Linked DNA regions of Homo sapiens: region 2 is linked to region 1. The links are contacts of gene promoters, found by promoter capture Hi-C in blood cells and fetal thymus (Javierre and others, 2016). All regions are on one chromosome and are shown on one strand. The core of a region is centred on a gene start or on the middle of the fragment in contact, and the rest is flanking DNA. Distances in the headings are between cores, read along the strand shown.

What was found. Contacts are between HindIII fragments. The CHiCAGO score rates a contact against its expected background, and 5 or more counts as called.
Region 2: a contact is called between a fragment that was not itself captured here and the fragment with the promoter of CDH23 in region 1, in 1 of 17 cell types (neutrophils). The highest score is 7.6, in neutrophils.

What each region holds. Positions count from the first base shown.
Region 1 is chr10:71,394,509-71,399,485 of GRCh38, forward strand. CDH23 (cadherin related 23) reads left to right here and starts at 2,412. Exons shown (of 70, transcript NM_022124.6): 1 at 2,412-2,810. RefSeq lists a silencer at 1,931-2,020 and an enhancer at 2,704-3,215. The HindIII fragment of the contact is 8,970 bases long and covers 1,093-4,977 here.
Region 2 is chr10:71,907,359-71,912,505 of GRCh38, forward strand. No RefSeq gene overlaps it. Among named protein-coding and RNA genes, the nearest start is that of LINC03139, 32 kb to the left of the region's middle. RefSeq lists an enhancer at 2,205-2,434. The HindIII fragment of the contact is 9,081 bases long and covers 1-5,147 here.

The DNA of each region.
Region 1 (4,977 bases), core at 1,162-3,661:
ACATGTAAGCTTCACCAGGGCAAGGATTTGTTTGGCGCAAGCATGCGTGTCTGTGTGCATGTGTGTGTGCCTGTGTGTGTGTGCTTGTGTGTGTTGTTCATTGACATATCCAAAGTGTCTAAATTCACAGGGGTTAACTAACGTTTTCTGTAAAGGGCCAGGCTGTAAATATTTCTTGTTTTTGCAGGCCATGCGGTCCCTCTTGAAATTCCTTATGTCTGTAGTTGTAGTGTGAAAGGAGACACAACCAAACAGGCCATGTCTGTGTGCCACTAAAACTTTCTTTACAAAAACATGTGATGAGGCAGATTTGACCTCTGGGTAGCGGTGTGCTCACCCCTGGTCTAGAAAATTTCTTGGCACATAGTATTTGACAAATAAATACTTTTAATTGAAGCAGTCTCTTCTCATCAACTGTTGCCTCCCAATCAATTCTCTCTCTCTCTTATTTTTTTTTAGATAGAGTCTTAGTGATCCTACTGCCTCAGCCTCCCAAAATGCTGCCATTATAGGTGTCAGCCACCAAGCCCGGCCTCTGAAGCTTTCAGTCTTAGGATAAAGATCAACTCCTGATTAAGGCCAACACACCTGCACAGTCTGGCCCCCACTCCATTGTGGCTTTACAGTCACTGCCAAGGACTAGAGGGACCACTCAGTGACTCGGATCAGAGAGGGGGTGCTTAAAGCCAACAGATGGTGCAGGCTCACTCACCCTCCCAAGCTTCCCAGGAGCGTTTCCTCGTACGCTGGAGGCACGGAGCTCTCCCCACCCTTTCTGGACTTCCTGACATATGCCAGCTCCTTCCCACCTTTGCACAAGTTGATTGCGACTGCGGTCACCAAACCATTGTTCCTGGCCCAGCCGTTGCCTGCAGTGGGCACCTGGGGCCTTTGCACATGCTGTTTCTCCTGCCTAAAACTCCACTCTCTCTCCCTTGCTCATCCTTCAGCTCAGTCACCTCCTCTAGGAGGTCTTCCCTGATCCCCTCGGCCAGGCGCCATTAAAGCACTCTTCTTCCTAGCACTGATTCTGGCTGTAATTTTACCTGCTTATGTGTTTCATTGATGAATGTCTGGTTCCCCTACTAGAGAAGCTTCATGGGGCACAAAGACCAAGCCTGTTTTGTTCTCCATCCTATTCCTAGAAACTATTTCAGTTAGCTAGCACATAGCAGTGACTGTGAATGAATGAATGAATAATGAATGAGCGAATGGTAAGGAACTGGAGCTTTGGAACCAGATAGATTCTGGGTTCAATACCCGACTCCACCACAGGGGCAAGTCCCCAACCTCCTAAAGCCTGTTTCTCACTGTAAAACTGGGATAATGGCAGGGCCCACCAGAAAGACTTTATTGAAGATAGAATGAGTTGAGGCCCAGAAAGTCTCAGCCCAGAGCCTGGCTCCAGGCAGGTACTGTCAATGTACTGACTGGAACAGTGACAGCTCGGAAATCCTGTCATGTGAGAAATAGTTTTAAAAAATCAGAATGCTTAGCCCCGGGGAAGTAAAGATCAAAGGTAGGGGATAAACCTCTTCCATTACCTGCATATGGACCCTTTCTTGATCCAGCTGTCTCAGAAAGCCATAAAGTCTCTGTCCCTATAGGTGTGCAAAAAGGAGCCGGGAGACCATGACTCGGGCACTGCAGACGGAGCTCCCGCAGGGGTGAGGGCGCCTAAGTGACCTCACGGGTCTCCTCCAACCCGGGGTCCTCCATTTCTAAGCACTTGGAGGCCTCTTGAGCTCTAGTGAGGGAGGAGGCGCAGATGGGAGCGCACGAGTCGGGTGGGCAAAGGCAGCTGGTTGGAGAGAAGCGTAGGCCAAGAGGCCCCAAGGACTAGAGGGACTGCTCAGCGACTCTGGGAGCAGAGAGGGGGCGCTTAAAGCCAACAGATGGCGCGGGCTCACCTAGGCCGAGCGCCCGCTCGCCCGCCCGGGCTTCCCGGGAGCGTTACCTCGCTCTGCCTGAGGCGCGGGGCGGACGAGACGCTGGGGGCCCCATCCCCCTGCGCGCCCCTCTGCGGGACGGCTGGCGGCCTGGCGGGGCACTGCTCTGTCTCGCACCTGGGGCCTCTTCCGCGGGCTTCCTCCCTGCCCCTTTGGGGGATTCGTAGAGTTGCCACAGCAGCCGGTGCCATGACATCGGCAGAGGGCAGCTTCGCCAGCACTGAAATATTCATGCCCTGAGCGCCCGGCGGGGCTCGGCGCCGCTCCCGGGGGTCCGGGCGGGGCCGGGCGGGAGCTCGGGGGTCCTGGCGGCCTGAGGGGTGGGGGAGCGCCGAGCGCGGGCGGGCGGGCGGGGGCCGGGCGAGGCGGGAGGTGAGGGAGGGAGCTGCGGGAGGCGGGGTCTGGACGGCGGGGGCCGAGCGGGGCGGGGGCCGAGCGGGGCGGGGGAAGCAAGGGAAAGTTGATCGCGGACTTGAGCGGCGGCGGCGGCTCGGGAGAGAGGGACGCGGGCTGCAGGCGCGATGCTTGGCTAGAGGACGCGTCCGACGGCGGCCGGACGCTGAGGTGGTCGGGGCTAGTCAGCCCGGCCTGGGCATGGAGCGCGGGGTGGCAGAGCCTCTGGACGTTTGGGGCGCGCCCAGTCCGAGCCCCCGGCGCGCCTGAAGTTGCGAGCGGCGAGCGGCGAGCGGCGAGCGGCCCGCGGAGACCCAGGAGCTGCCGGCACGCCGCGGATGAGCCTTCGCGCCGGCGGGAAGACGCGGCGGTGGCCAGGGCCAGAGCAGGCGGCCCGCGGGGGCCGATCCGGCGGAGAGCAGAGCCCGAGGCGAGGCGAGGCGCGGCGCCGCTGCACACACGCACACGGTACCCGGAGCCACGCACCGCCTCTTCCCTCCTCGCTTCCCTCTCCTTCCCCTCGCCGTTCGCCCGCCGCGCGGCGGGGAAGTTGGTGGTGACCGCGGCTGCCGAACCACTTGTTCCCAGCGCGGCCATCGCCCGTGGCGGGCGCTCGCGGCATCCTTCGGTCCCAGGCCCCTGGCCCTAGCCTCGCGCCCCGCTCCGAGCTCCCCGACGCGCGGCAACTTTGATTCCTGGGAACTCGAATTCCATTCGCGTTGGCCTTGGGAGGACAGGCATCCCATCCCCCATCCCCGGTCCTGGGACCGCGAACATTTGGGGGCTTTGCTCTCGGCGCTACGGAGAGGGTCCAGGTCTGGGGTGGAGAGATTTTCGAGAGTGGAGCGCGTTGGGATCCAATCCCCTCCCCTTCTGAGCCCTGGGTCCCCATTTGGACAGTGGGGATGGGGTGGGGCGCACCCCTACTGCGGGCTGGGCAGAGGCGCTGAGGGGAACTAAAGGCACGTAGTTCTCCCCTCCCCTCATCAAGTCCCTGTGCCCGCGGGAGACCCCAGGGGACTTACACATCCTCCCAAATTCGGTCCAGCTATGGGAAGACGCGCCCCTCGAGGAGCCGGGAGCCTTTTGCGGCTCTCGCTTCGCCTTCCTGGCCCTGGAACTGGTCCGCTACGAGCGGTGCTGGCTGCCCCCAGGAGCTGGCACCCGGGAGCACTGCCCCTCATCTCCACCGTAGGTCAGCCCAGGACTCGAGCAGAGCCCGCGTGTTCCAAGGCAGTGACGGCGCCAGCCGGCGGGGACTCTGCCTGGCTTTCTCGGAGCGGGCACCTAGAGAGGCTGCCTCCGTGCTGTGAGCGGAGATCCGATGCCAGCCGCCGCCCCACTGCGACCCCAGCCCCAGCCCTAGTGCTGTCAGCGGTCCACTGGGAGGAAATTAGCCTTTCCTCGGTAGTAATACTCCCCCATCCTCCCTAGTAATTCAGAAAGCAGAGCCTTCTTTTTCTACGTCCTTTGCCCTCTCAGACCAGAGCTGGCATTGACATTGACCTCGCCTTCCAGCCCCTTGGGAAGTGCCCCAACCCTAATTTGGATTTTGAAATAAGCTAGAGAGACACAGGAGTGTGTGTGTGTGTGTGTGTGTGTGTGTGTGTGTGTGTGTGTGTGTGTTGGGTGGAGTCAGACCCTCACACAGGGAAGAATTAGGTTGTGGGGTGTGGGGTGGGGCGGGCTTTAAGAACCTAGTTGGGGCCAGTTGCATGGTGATGATGAGTCAGCCCACGATGGGGAGAGCTGGCTTGGAGTTAGTGCTTGGTTCGTGGTGCAGGGGTAGGCGCACTGCGGTCAGCACCTACAGGGGTGGGGGCACTAGATGTTACTCTGCCAAGGAGGAGCTGGGAAGGGGCCCCTTGCCTGGGGGAATAGCAAGGCTTGGTTCTGGCTGCCAGGGCTGGGGAGGGCAGGAAGGCAGAGTGTCTCGTGGTAGAGGGTGGGTGTCCCCCGTGAGTTGGGAAGGTGGCACACAGAAGCCACTGGTGTGAACCAGGAAGCTCTGCCTCGAGTGCTGGAGGACAGCAGTGAGGGGTGGGAGGCCCAGAGCTAGCATCCTGGCCCCGTCTGTGCTGGGTCCGCATATACTTCTCAGACTTGGCCTTCCTCACCTCTAAACAGCTGGGCTCCTCACGTCTGCTTACCAAAGGGCTTGATTTGAGGGTTGTGATAGCAGATGGTCCTGGTTGCCTCTGGAATAGCTCCCCCACTCAACAAGCTACCTTACCTGCAGTTTCACCATTTGAGGTTCATTTATTTGAGCCAAGTATTTTAAAGGGCACCTTCCTGAAGTGCTCATTTAAAATGCACATTCTTCTGGGAGGTGAAGGTGTAGCGGAACCTTGCTCCTCAGAGTGTGGCCTGTGGACATGCAGCGTCGGCATCACCTGGGGACTTGTTAGAAATGCAGACTCTTGGGCCCCACCCCAGACCTTCTGAATCAGAATCTGCATTTGGTAAGATCCTTGGGTGACTCATGTGCTCAGTAAAGTTTGAGCTGTGGTCCACAGTGCCTTCTCTAAGAGGCATTGCATAGTTCCTTGGTGCAGAGTGTTGTATAGGGCAGTGGATAAGAACACAGAGATGAGAATGAGATTGGAGCTTCTCTCTTTGGCCAGTTTTGCTAGGC
Region 2 (5,147 bases), core at 1,904-4,403, 510 kb after region 1:
AGTGAGCGGAGATTGCGCCACTGCACTCCAGCCTCAGCAACAGAGCAAGACTCTGTCTCAAGATTAAAAAAAGTCAGCTCCTGACAGAGCCCTCAACTTACAGATGAACCCAAGTGACCTCTCCTCATGAGCCTGCTACGGTCTCCACTCAGGAGGAGAGATGGCTTCATCACCATCGCATGCGGCCCAGGTGCTGGTGTGATGGCTCACTGCATCTACGCCACTGGGGCTTGGCCTGTACACACGACCACACAACCTCTCCCCTCTCCTCACCCGATAAAACCCTCCTGTCACTCTCCCTGGAAGAGGCACTGCTTTAGAGAATCCTCCCAGCGTCCTTACTCACACCTAGTAATAAAATGCCTATTGATAACCCCTGGGTTTTTTTTTCCAGGTAACAAACCCAAACTAAGGTGCTCAGGAACGATCACAACCAAAACTTGAGTATCTTGTATGCCAGAGGGACTATCAATAAGGGCCCTGAGACCTAGCAAAGTCACCCCTACAACACACAGGCTTGGCAGATGGTTTCAGTCTAATCCAGACCAGAGAGACATAACAACCAAATGTAGCCAGGAAATTTGATTGGATCCTGGATCAGGAAATAAAAAAGACAATTTAAGGGAAAAGTTGAAGAAATGTGAATGTCCTGTAGACTGCATGTTTGCTGATCTTTTTGAATGAATGTTATTCTCGGGTGTCATGATGATTCTGTGATTCCGTAGGAGGATATCTTTGTTCTTAGGAGACGTACACCTTCGTGTTTATGGGTGAAGGGCCAAGAGATTGGCAAGTTACTTTCAAATTAGAAAATAGACAGAGGCTGGGCATAGTGGCTCACACCTGTAATCCCAGCACTTTGGGAGGCCGAGGCAGGCGGATCACCTGAGGTCGGGAGTTTGAGACCAGCCTGACCAACATGGAGAAACCCCGTCTCTACTAAAAATATAAAAATTAGCTGGGCATGGTGGTGCATGCCTGTAATCCCAGCTGCTCGGGAGGCTGAGGCAGGAGAATCGCCTGAACCCAGAAGGCGGAGGTTGCAGTGAGCAAAGATCATGCCATTGCACTCCAGCCTGGGCAACAAGAGGGAAACTCCATCTCAAAAAACAAAAACAAAAGAAAAAGAAAATAGAGACACAGAGACAGAGATTAAAAGGATGGGGACGGGAGGGAGAAAACATGCTAAAATGTGAAGAATTGGTGAAATCTGGGTTGGGGGCACACAGGTATTCATTGAAGAAGAACAGGTGTGCACAAAGGGCTGCAAGCCTCCAGATTAAAAAAAGAAGCTATTCTTGAGACCCGTGGCTCACGCCTGTAATCCCAACACTTTGGGAGGCCAATGCAGGCAGATCATGAGGTCAGGATTTCAAGACCAGCCTGGCCAACATGGTGAAACCCTGTCTCTACTAAAAAATACAAAAATAAGCTGGGCATGGTGGTGGGTGCCTGTAATCCCAGCAACTCAAGAGCCTGAGGCAGGAGAATCACTTGAACCTGGGAGGCAGAGGTTGCAGTAAGCCGAGATTGCACCACTGCACCAGCCTGGGCAACAAGAGCAAAACTCTGTCAAAAAAAAAAAAAAAAGAAAGAAAAGAGAAAGAAAAGACAGAAAGGAAGAAAGGAAGAAAGAAGAAAGACAGACAGAAAGAAAGACAGAGAAAAATTACTGGGGAGCCAGGAAGGCCTCATGGAGGAGGTACTATCTAGGATGAGCCTGAAGTTTGGGTATGTTCATGGCAGAGACAAAGGTGTTCCCAGTACAGGAAACAACACGTGCAAAGGTGTGAGGGTTAGATGTGACTTAGATATGATTAGCCGATGGGTTCCTCCTGCTTCCTGTACGAACAAAACCAATTCATTGAGACCATGGTACTGCAGTAGAGAAAGAAGGTAGCTACGTGGAAGACGGAGTTATTACTAAAATCAGTGTCCCCAAAGGCTCAGAGGTTAGAGTTTTTCAAGGACAGTTTGGTGGGCAGGGGGCTGGGGGAGAAGGAATATTGATTGGTTGGGGTGAAATCACAGGGGTGTGGAAAATTGTCCTCGTGCTCCAAGTCCTCTGGGTGGGGGCCACAGGACCAGTTGAGTCACGAGTCGGTGGTCCAGGTGGGGTCAGTTGATCATCAGAAATGCAAAAGTCTGAAAAGACATCTCAAAAGGCCGATCTTCGGTTCTACAAGAGTGTTGTTATTTATAGGAGTAACTGAGGAAGTCACACATCTGTGACATCCGGAACAATACTGATAATAATTTACTGCGCCTTCATCTTATCAGAGTTCAGGCCCTTCTCATAACCCTATCTTTGTGGACTTTTATTAGCTTTACAAAGGTGGTTTAGTTTTGGGAAGGGCTATTACCATGCTTGCCTTAAGCTAAAAACTAAATTCCTCCCAAAGTCAGCTTGGCCTATGCCCAGGAATGACCAAGGACAGCTTGGAGGTTAGAGGGAAGATGGAGTCCACTCTGTCAGAGTTCTCTCACTGTCATAATTTTGCAAAGGTGGTTTCACTAACACAATGTGGCAGGTGTTATGGGTTGGGCCACTCATCACATATTCAAGTTGGATCAGGTAGGATCTTAGACAACTACAAACTCACCTTTTCTCAAGCCCTTGCAGCTAGCAGTGGCCATGTGACACAATTTTGACCAAGAAAGCTACTGGGGAATCCCAGGAAAGTCTTTGCTTTCCTGATACGGCTGCAAACTTGTCTTCTGTCTCCTTCCTCCTGGAACTCAGACCTAATTGACGTGGGGCTGGCCATGCAGGAGACAGAAATATGTAAAACACAATACTCACCAACAGTAGAATACACATTCTTCTAGAATACCCAAGGAATGCTGGTCAAGATAAACCATATGGACCAGGCATGGCAGCTCATATCTGTAATCTCAGCACTTTGGGAGGACAAGGTGGGCAGATTGCTTGAACCCAGGCATTCAAGACCAGCCTGGGTAATATGGCAAAACCCCATCTCTTCAGAAAATATAAAAAATTAACTGGAAGTAGTGGAGCACACTTGTAGTCCCAGCCACTCAGGAGGCTAAGGTAGGAGAATCGCTTGAACCTGGGAGGTCAAGGCTGGGGGACAGCCTGGGGGACAGAGTGAGACCCTGTCTCAAAAAAAAAAAAAAAAAAAAAGACAAACTGTATGTTGGACCATAAAATGAGTCTCAATAAACTTAACAGGATTGAAACAATACAGAGTATGTTCTTTGATCCAATGGAATTTAAAAAATTCTTTTAGAAATCAATAGCAATATGATATCCAGAAACACCCTCAAAGGAAGCAAGACTTCTAAATACATATTCTCTGGGCCACGGAAAAAGTCACAAGGGAAATTAGAAAATATTTATAAGTGAAAGATAACAAAAGCACAAAATATTAATTTCTTTTAGTAGATTTTTATTTATTTATTTATTTATTTTGAGGCAGAATCTCACTCTGTTGCCCAGGCTGGAGAGCAGTGGTGTGATCTTGGCTCTCTGCAACCTCTGCCTCCCAGGTTCAAACGATTCTCCTGCCTCAGCCTCCCAAGTAGCTGGGATTACAGGTGCCCATCACCACGCTCAGCTAATTTTTTCATATTTTCAGTAGAGACAGGGTTTCGCCATTTTGGTCAGGCCAGTCTTGAGCTCCTGACCTCAGGTGATCCGCCCGCCTGGGCCTCCCAAAGTGCTAGGATTACAGGCATGAGCCACCGTGCCCGGCCTCTTTTAGTAGATTTTTAAAATTTTCTTAGAGACAGGGTCGTGTTCTGTCACACAGGCTGGAGTGCAGTGGTGCAATCATAGCTCGCTGCAGCCTCAACCTCCTGGGCTCAAGTGATCCTCCTGCCTGGGCTTCCCAAAGTGCTGGTGAAGGGTTGACAAGCATTGCATGCTGGGTTCTAGACAGAAATACAGTTACAATTAAGCATTAATCAGGCTACACTTTCGCCCACTTCCTTGTTTCTAGAAGTCAGCATGAGATCCTGACCGATTGCATCCCCATTGTTCCCATAGACAGGGTCTCTGACATAAGAATCATAAGGCTTTTCTTGAAGGATCACTTCAGATGTTTTTCAGACGCCAAATTCCAGCAGCCAGTTTGGACACTCCCACAGAGGAATGGGATCAGCATGGGAATACAGCTGCTTCCTCTCCCAGTCCCATGACTTCACCCTGCACTTTTCCACCAATCAGTGATCTCCACACTTCAGCCCACTCCAAAACCCTTAGGAACCCTAGCCCCAGGCTCCTCAGGGAGATGGATTTGAGGTTCTCTCCCATTTCTTTGTTTGGTGACCCTACGATTAAACCTCTTTCTCTTCTGCAGCCTGGGGTCTTGTATTGACATGCTGTGTGCTTTGGGCAATGAACTTCTCACAGTTATACTGAGGTCACAGGCATGAGCCACTGTGCCCAGCCCTCTTTCAATAGTTTTTTTTTTTTTTTTTTTTTTTGGAGGCGGAGTCTCGCTCTGTTGCCCAGGCTGGAGTGCAGGGGTGCAATCTCGGCTCACTGCAACCTCTGCCTCCTGGGTTCAAGCGATTCTCCTGCCTCAGCCTTCAGAGTAGCTGGGATTACAGGCACGCACCACCACGCCTGGCTAATTTTTGTATTTTCAGTAGAGACAGGGTTTCACCATGTTGGCCAGACTGATCTCGAACTCCTGACCTTAGGTGATCTGCTTGCCTTGGCCTCCCAAAGTGCTGGGATTACAGGTGTGAACCACTGTGCCCAGCCCAGTAGATTTTTTTTTTTTTTTTTTTTTTTTGAGACGGAGTCTCGCTCTGTCGCCCAGGCTGGAGTGCAGTGGTGGGATCTCGGCTCACTGCAAGCTCCGCCTCCCGGGTTCACGCCATTCTCCTGCCTCAGCCTCCCAAGTAGCTGGGACTACAGGCGCCCGCCACTACGCCCAGCTAATTTTTTGTATTTTTAGTAGAGACGGGGTTTCACCGTTTTAGCCGGGATGGTCTCGATCTCCTGACCTCGTGATCGGCCCGCCTCGGCCTCCCAAAGTGCTGGGATTACAGGCGTGAGCCACCGCGCCCGGCCTAGATTTTTTTATTTCAGAATTGTATCTGGCTATTCCAGGATTTCCATGGGCTTCTTAATTCCCCTGGTCTCCTGAGAGTCTCGCCCAGCACACGTGCAGGTC